Linked DNA regions of Homo sapiens: region 1 is linked to region 2. The links are contacts of gene promoters, found by promoter capture Hi-C in human tissues and cell types (Jung and others, 2019). All regions are on one chromosome and are shown on one strand. Each heading gives the region's core, a stretch centred on a gene start or on the middle of the fragment in contact. The rest is flanking DNA. Distances are from core to core; before and after follow the strand shown. Region 1 overlaps CRYL1 (crystallin lambda 1). Region 2 holds the start of IL17D (interleukin 17D).

Region 1 (4,251 bases), core at 853-3,352, 290 kb after region 2:
AAAGAAGTGGATGAGGAAGAATGGTATGAAGAAAAATGAGAAAAGCAAATGAAAATGAGGCCATGCAAAAAATACATGAATCAGAAAATTAAATCTAGGAATGGGATGATTATAGAGAAGGAAAGATGGTTCGGTGTAGCTGGTGATCAGTAGAGGAGATAGTCACGGAGGAGGATTTATCCATCAAATATCGTGTGCCTCCACCACACAAGTTTCTCTCCTGCCTTCCTCTTCTTCTGGGACTGTCCGAAGGACCAGAGTAAGTACCACAGCATCTGTTAACCCTTTGCTATTGTTAATTGTTAGATGTGTCTTGCTTCCTCTTCTCCCCATCCCCACCCCACAAACAAACAGAAGTGCTTGATCCAAGATCCCTGAGGGTATCTGTCCCCTGAGAGGGTCAGCTCGGCCAGGCTAGAGCGTCCAGTCACTCAGTCAAACTCAGTCTAGATGTTGCTGGGAAGGTATTTGGTACATAGTTGACTTTAAGTAAATGAGATTATTCTCCATAGTCTGGGTGGGCTAAATCCAGTCCATTGAAAGGCCTTGCAAGCAGAACTGAGATCTCCCTGAGGAAGGAGAAATTCCACCTGCAGACTGTGGGGTAGTTCCTGCCTGGAGTTGCCGGCCTGCCCTCCTGATGGCCTGTCCATGGCTTTCTGACTTGCCAGGCCCACAGTCACATGAGCCAATTCCTTGAAATAAATCTCTTGATGTATGTGTGTATGTGTGTGAATCTTACTGGCTTTGTCTGGTAGAACCCTGAGTGATACATCCCTAAACCTTTCATTCGACTTAACATTTGTTTCATAGCAGTTGGGTACGTTATTAACTATCTTGCATTTTCTCCTACTTCACGGATGTCTTGTGGCTCCTCTCAGCCTGGGCATTTTCTCCTACCAAATCAGGTGCAAAATATGTGCCCCAGCTATGCATGTGTTACTCCACTGTGGAAAAATCTCAGGTTTTAACTAAGGAAGCAGAAGCAAGGAGTTTTTCAATAAAAGGGGTTCCTTAACACTGTCTGGGATCTCTTTGCCCAATGATTTTCAGGACGCGAAACCATGTTTTGAACTAACAGTGATTGTAGTATTCATTGCTTTGTATGATTTTTAAATAATCTTTTCTTTGTATGTGTGACTTGAGAATTTTACCTTAAAATGGAGTAAGTACTGATTGCTAAACTGATCAATGTTAACAGAACCACAGAAGGGCTGGACTCAGGTAGGGTTCCCATCTCCGCACAGCTGTGTTGCCCGTCACCTATTATAAGGAATCGCTTGTCAGTTCCCTGTTTCAACACAAGCACTTGTTTCTGCCTGTCATGCTGCTGCGATTATTTATCAATGACAAATGATTATTTGTCATTGTTATGATAATATTAGGCCACAGATGTCACAAGGCTTTGGGTGGAATTAAGCTCAGTGGCAAAATTAAGCAACCTGAGCTTCAAAACATCCTAAATGGAAAAGCTTTAGTTCAGCACCAAGTGCAGCAGGGAGAAACTCAAACGTTTGCCTTGGGGACATGATATCCTAGTTGTGGAGCTTCTCAACTGAATGCCTTGTGGTCCTTTTCTTTCTCTATATTTAGCTTCTTGGTAAAAACTCAAGCTTTGAGAAATCCATTTCAGAAATTCAAATGGGCAGAAAGAAGCAGTGAGGAAGGGAAAGTATCAAAACGTTTTTCCCTTTCTAACTTGTTCTACTGGTGAATAGTGACTGATGGAAGACCCACAGCCCTCCTCTAGATGAAATCAGGCAGAACTGAGAACATGGGAGTTGGAGGGAATGTGGTTCCTCCCAGGTCATGGGGCAGCATGGAGAACCCTTCTCAGGCGTTAGTTAGGGGCTGTTAGCTCAGATGATACAAACCAAAAAGGACCTACTCTTGAGTGGCTCACCTTTTTTCTATTTTGCAATCCTAAAAATGATTTTTTAAAAATCAGCTCTAAAAATACTAAATACGATTCTAAAAGAGCCAAGCCAAATAACACTGCAAGTATAGGGTGGCTTCCATGTTTGCATACTTCCCAGTTTGAATACTAAAATGAAAACTTGGGGCTGTTTGGAATGTTGGCCTGGAAAGCAAGGGTGAGGGAGCGACTGCAGGCCGCCTGGCTGCCTTTCACAGCATTCCAGAGCCCACGGGGGTGCGAGGGGCCACAGCCCAGGCCTTCCAGCAGCCTGGAGAGAGGGCAGGGAGCCACCCTTCCTGCCTCCAGACCTCCTGCCAGGGAGAGGAGGCGACAATGCCTGTGTTCCACACGGGATTCTTGACGGTTCCGGGAGTTTCTGTGGGCCTTAGGTAGATATCCCCCAGCCCCCGTGATGCCCCGACCCGTTACAGCTTCGCTATTGGGAGTGAAAGGAGGCGACCCTCCTCAGCATTGCAGTGACTTGCACAGACTGATTCACTCTCCTTAGCAGTCAGTGAACATGTGGTAGGGTGATTTAGAACTCGAAGGAAACCTGGTGAGATACCATTTCACCCTACCAGATTAGCGAAACTTTGCAAGGGTGAGGACACCAAGCGTGGCGAGGCTGAGGCGCGACGGGACCTCTTCTACACAATTCTGGAGGCCGGGGCGCCGCAGTGACGGGGAGAAGGATGCTCTGGGCCCCAGCCGCGGCCCGGGCCCTGTGCGCGTGACCCTGGCTGCCCTGCTCACAGGAGCCCCAGACTAGCCAAAGGCTCATGGCCGCAGGGTGGATGACTAAACTCATATCTCTGCATCAAGGAGATGGACACATGACGCAGGTGAATCTGAGAAACAGGATGGTGAGAGACAAGTCACGAAAGAACGCGCGCTCAGTGATTCCACTTACAGGAAGATTAGAAATGGGCCAGCAGCAAACGCTGCAGCTGAGGAATGTGAACACGGGCGGCCAGTCTGAAAAGCGGGAAAGCCGCAATTGCAGGAGTCAGGGTGCGGGCCTCTAGAAGCGGGCGGAGTCTGCGGCAGGCGAGGCCAAGCGTTTGCTTTGTAATTCTCCTGGAAACGTGGACTGTGGCTTGTTCAGCCTCGATATGCTTGTGTCCCGTGTGCGCAAACAAAACGAAACGCAAAGTGGCTCTCTAAAAGGGAGTCGCGGGTCACAGTGAGTGGCCCTGGCCCTCGCCCTCGCCGGTGGTGGCGTGGCTGTGGCCGTCCTGGCTCCTGGGCCAGGCCGCCTGCTCCCGCTTCACCGCCGCGCTCTCTGCAGACGCAGGGCGGTGTCCAAGCCAGCACACGGACCTGAGGCACCTGGCTGTCGCCCGCCGCAGCCGGTTGCGGGGCACGGCGGGGGTTTCGAACCCCTTTTCTCGCTTCTCGGGGGACCCCTGGGGCTGCCCTGGAGGCCCAGGAACCTCGAGGCCAGGCCCAGGCGCCCCAGGCTCGCAGCAGGGCAGAGGGTGCCTCCCTGCAGGCCGCTGTGCCAGGGTCCCCGCAGAGCCCTCCGGGCGGAGCAAGCCCCCAGCTTGGAGACGGCCTTCTGGGCAAAGACAGGCTCTACCCGCAAGCCTGGGAGGGACTGGGGCCGGGTGCGGGCGAGGGGAGGTGCCCCGGGGTAGGGAAACCGGGCTCAGCCGAGGGCAGGCGGGCCCGCCCAGGCCGCGATGGGAAGGGCGCGACGCATCGTCCACGGTCGGGCTCTCGCAGGCGGGCCAGCGCTACTGCCTCAGTCCTACAGAGCTCTGGTGAAAGACAGCGCTCAGATGAGACCTGGGGCGGCGGATTCCGCGGGAGTGCTGCCTGTCTGAGCCGTGAAGGCGTAGGGGAAAAGGTGGCGGCTTCCCTCCGTCCGCCCTCCTGACAGTGGAAATGCCCAAGGGGGAGGCATCCTCTGACGGGAGGGACCTCAGTGGAGCGCAGCTCTTGCAGATCATTATCTGCGCTTGCCTGCCTCCATCCCAAAGCCACGTGAGGCCAAGGAACACAGGTGGCTGATCAGACGTCTAACCTTAATACATAACAACTTGCCTCTTGCTTTGCAATTTACATTGCAGAAGATTCCAGGGCCCCACCTTAGCAAACAAACCCATGGTTCTAAGCTGCATTTCATCAAAGAATATCACTTTTTACGAACTCATTAAAAGCTGAACAAGGCCGGACTTGCAGGCATGTGAAGCCTGGAGAGCACCTTCCCACGTCTTTTGATGGCTCTAATCTTACTCCCCCCTGGGTCCTAGGCAGAAATCTAGAAAATCCTTCATGTCCTTTTACTACGATGCCCCGTCCTCACGCTCCCCTTGTCGTCAGCTTCTCTC
Region 2 (4,324 bases), core at 1,783-4,282:
TTAACTTCCCACACACAGAATGCCAGTGCTGCTAACTCTCCATGTGTCCTCCAGCCCTGCTCTGTCTCCTGAGCTCCAACCAGTCATTGTCACCTGTACGCCTTTCAGGCAGGCAAAACTCAACAGGCTTGTTACTAAATTCATTATTTCCTCCCACAACACTTGTTCCTAAGTGTATTTTCTCATTTTGCTCAAATACCATCAACAACCCAAGCCAGAAACATGAGAGACATGCCTTTGGGAGGCTATATACTACTCTTAGGCCCTTGGCCCAGCCTGTGGGGAGCCACGGGTTTGCCTGAGAGTTCGAATCTGCTATAGAAAGCAGGGCCAGCAGCTTCTGTCCAGAGAAGTTAATCTCTGGTTCTGAGAGATTCCTTATGTGGCTTTAATCCTATTTGGTATATCAGAAGCATAACACGAGGTTAGAGAAAGAAGAATGCCGTAGTCCATCCCTTCAGGTCCTGGAAATGGAGGAAGAGAGAGGAAAAGCAAGAGCACCAAGATACCAGAATGAATGGCGCCATGTGTGTGCCCTGCAGGCTCCAGCTGAAGGACAGGAGTGAGAAGGGCGGGAGGGGTCCCACCCAACTTCCCCGTGGGCAGGGGCTCTGAGGGGGCTCTGCCACAGTGAGCTTGGTCCTCTGCAGAGTAGCCAGGAGGCAGGAGGCCCTAAAACTTGGCTTCCCAGGACAGCATAGGGGTCCTGTGTGTTGTTGAGTAAAAGGAAATCTCCCTACCCAGCAGCCGGCAGGGAGAGGCTCCAGGAAAGCCCAGATGCGTTTTAGACAAAATCATCACATTTCCTCTGACTCTCCACAGCACTTGTCTTCTTTAATGAGCATCTTTCACGCTGATCCTAGTCTCCCCTTCCCACCGCGCTGCCTGAGTGAAGCCCTAGATCCTTTGGATGGAAGTGCTGGAGAGCATTGTCCAATCCATGCCCCATTGGGACACCCTCCTAAACCAGAGTGGCTGTATGGCTTCCTCCATCTCAAGTGTCAAGACTTTTTTTCTCTTTAATTTTTATTTTAGAGACGGGGTCTCGCTTTGTCACGCAGGTTGGAAGGCAGTGGCGCCACCACAGCTCACTGCAGCCTGAACCTCCCGGGCTCAATCTATCCTCCCACTTAAGCCTCTGGAGTAGCTGGGACCACAGGCACGTGCCACCACACTTCGCTAATCCTTAAAAATTGTTTGCAGAAATGGGATCTCGCTATGTTTCCCAGGCTGGTCTCGAACTCCTGGACTTAAATCCTCCTGCCTCGGCCTCCCAAAGTGCTGGGATTCCAGGCGTGAGGGTGAAGCTCTGCACTGCTGACAAGGCGGGGATCCAGCTCCTGCACCTGTCTCCAGCCTTACATCGATGCCCACCCCACAGGCAAACACCTCGCCTACGCCCCCCCACCCCCACCGCCCCCGCTCGCCTTGTGGCTCTCCCCATTTTCCAAGCGCTTTGTTCCCGCTTGCTATCAGCTGTCCCTTCCCTCAGCACTGCCTTTGTAGGCGACTTGCTCTCCTCCATCAAGACTCAGCTCTTTCACGAAGCCTTTCTTGACCTCTGTGGCCCTGGGAGGCCTTGCCCCCTAGGGCAGCTCCTCCTGCTCCAGCTAGAGGGAAGACGGTCACAGGTGCCTGCTGAGGACACTGCGGCACCCTGCCTACACGCCCCCAACTTCTCCAGCCTTCCCCTTCTGCAGGCTGTCCCTTTCTTCTGAAATGACCTCTGTTCCAAGACCAAAATACTCTCGAAACTGTTCATGTCACTTCATGCACTGCCTGATGGTGTGGTTTCTTTCCCAATTATCCCCACTCCTTCCTTAGGCTATTAAACTAGAGGGGCTCAGAGGGCGCTTCCCAGGGCTCCACTCCAGCAGCCTCTGGACCACAGGGGCACTCAGGAAATATGTGGATAGTACCGCGCACCCCCCAGCAGCACCTCCCCGGGCCCCCTGTGCAGAGTACGGTCCACATCACTGTGTCCACATCACGGAAGGGTCCCCAGCTAGTGCCTTGCGGACCCATCCAACCTGGAGGAGATGAGGTGTTCAAGAGATACGTGTTGCATAGGAAATACTGGAGGGTAAAGAGAGGAAGCAGGACTCCTTCAAGGGAGGTGGTGGGGGTGGGCCTTCGCAGTTTAGGAATTGCCCCCCAGTGCTCCAACTGCCCCGCCCCACCCCGCCTCATCGCAGCGCCCCTCGCACCCCACCCCACCCTACCGTACCCTACCCTGTCTCGCCCCGCACCACCCCACCCCTACCTGCTCCGCCTCGCCCCGCGTGCCACGCCCCCTCCGCGTCGCCCCGCCCCAACCACCTCCCCTTCCCCGCCCCACCCTCCCCGCCTGCCCGGCCTCGGCCCGGCCCCACCCACTCTCCCCGCCCAGCCCTGCCCTCCCCACCTGCCGGGCCCCGCCAGGACGCGCCCGCGGCTCACCTGTAGGCCCAGGGCGACACGCTGCGCAGGTTGGTGGGCGGCCGGAAGCGGCGGTCGGCGGGCCTGCCCCCTGCCGGGCAGCTCGCGTTGCGCGCCTGCTCACGCGGCCCCAGCTGCAGCGTGTGGTGGAAGGCACTGAGCACGCCGGCCGCCAGGCGCCCGTACAGCTGCTCCAGTAGCTCCTCCGGCCGGTCCGCGCAGCCCCGCGGCCGCGCGGGGCGCCTGCCCGCCCTCGGGGCGCCCGCGGCCCAGCTCGGCGGCAGCGCCAGCAGGAAGCCGGCTACCAGCATCCAGACCTGAGGGACAGGCCACGCTCAGCGTCCGCACGCGCCGGAGGAGCCCGCCTGCGCCCCGCGCCCGTGTCCCGCCCGCGGCGCCCGGAGCCGGCGGGCGCCTCCCCTCGCCCCGCGGAGCCAGAGGCCGGCCCGGAGGATGGGAGCCGCGCGGGCGGGCCCCAGAGCGCCCTCCCCGCCTGCCCGCCGCCCGCGGGGTCCCCGGGGCCCAGCCCGGCGCCGGCCCGCGCGCCCCCGGCCCCCGCCGCCGCCGCCGCCCCGAGCCGGGGGCCGCACGGGGGGCGGGTGCGGGGCGCGCGTGCACGTGTGCGTGTGCCTGCCGGGTTGCTGCGCCGCGGGCTGCGAGTGCTTGTGACCCGCCGCACCCTCACCCCCGGGCGCGCCATCCCTGCTCCGCCGCCAGCGAGGGAGCCCCGGAGCCTAAGACGCCCGGACCCGCCGCCTCGCAGACCCACCCTTGCCCCTGCGCCTCGTCATCCGCCCGCCCCAGCCAGCCCGCGCAGGGTCCGCGGCCCGCTTTTCCGCGAGAAGCCCCCTGTGGTCTTTCCTCGTACCCGGGGACTCGGACCGAGAAGCCGACTGAGCGAGGTCGCCGCCCGGCCTCACGGACACAGAGCGACTCTGCACCTTTCGCCTCCAGGAGCTGAAAACATTTTGTCACTTGTGCAGTGTACTCACCAGTGCCCCCAACATCTTCTCCCCCGAAAGCGCTTTCAGATTCGCGCCGAGATGGGGCGACGCGGCGGCTCTTGAGCGGAATAACCCGAAGGGCCACGCAAACTGGGGCTTCCAGCCGCGAGCATGCGGCGGGGCGCCCAGGGCCTGGGGTCGCGCGCTCAGGGCCTGTGCTGCGCCACGCAGGAGGAGGAGAGGGCTGGCCCTGCCGGGCGCGGGTGCGGGCCCGACTGGCTGAAGGAGGAGTGGGGACTGGCTTGGAAGTCTCCGAAGCAGAAAAGTGGGGCCGACAGGATGGAATTGGGGGAGGCCGATTTTGGCTCAGAGAGATTTCTCTATTAAGGAAAGCAGTCCAAGAATAGGCCCCCTGGAAGAGGAATGCGCTCAAACCCAGAGGGATTCTCCTTAGAGCTACCTCTTGAGATTCTGTACTTCGAGGAAATTAGAGGTTTTTTTAAATCTCTATTTTTAATAAGGTGGGAGGAGGCTGTTGCTCCTTTCTCCTCAACAACATGAAATGATCCTGTGCCTCTATCCAACAACTCTACAACAAAGCACTGAATACTTCCCTGACTGGCACTTTCATGGCTGTTCATGGGCATCTCTTGGTCTATGACGACGATGTTGGAGAGTTCCTACTCCGTGATAACTCAGTTCTAAGTGCAAGCAGTCACGTGAAATGAGCCTGATAGTCTGCGAATGAAGAAACTAAAACGAACTATATTATATACTTCATAACACAAGACAACGTGCTCGTTTGTTCATTCTGCAAGTAAATGCTTAATGCTTCCTAGGTGGCAGGCTAAAGAATATGATCATTTTAAAGCAGTCATGCTTTGAAAATAAACAACCCATCCCAGCTGTAAGCTTTTTGAAAGTGTACAAAATATGTAATTGATGACTCCCTAAATGGTTTG

What was found. The method cuts DNA at HindIII sites, captures the fragments that hold promoters and counts their contacts. A contact is called where the count stands out against the background at its distance.
Region 1: a contact is called between a fragment that was not itself captured here and the fragment with the promoter of IL17D in region 2, in 1 of the 25 tissues and cell types used here (mesendoderm cells).

Annotation. Positions count from the first base shown.
Region 1 is chr13:20,414,406-20,418,656 of GRCh38, reverse strand. All of the region lies in intron 5 of CRYL1 (crystallin lambda 1), which reads left to right. Among named protein-coding and RNA genes, the nearest start is that of MIR4499, 17 kb to the left of the region's middle. RefSeq lists enhancers at 2,216-2,797, 2,798-3,379. The HindIII fragment of the contact is 4,144 bases long and covers 31-4,174 here.
Region 2 is chr13:20,702,407-20,706,730 of GRCh38, reverse strand. It overlaps IL17D (interleukin 17D), which reads right to left and starts at 3,032. Exons shown (of 2, transcript NM_001385224.1): 1 at 2,440-3,032. The coding sequence starts at 2,729. RefSeq lists silencers at 2,211-2,720, 3,011-3,150, 3,571-3,650. The HindIII fragment of the contact is 9,244 bases long and covers 593-4,324 here.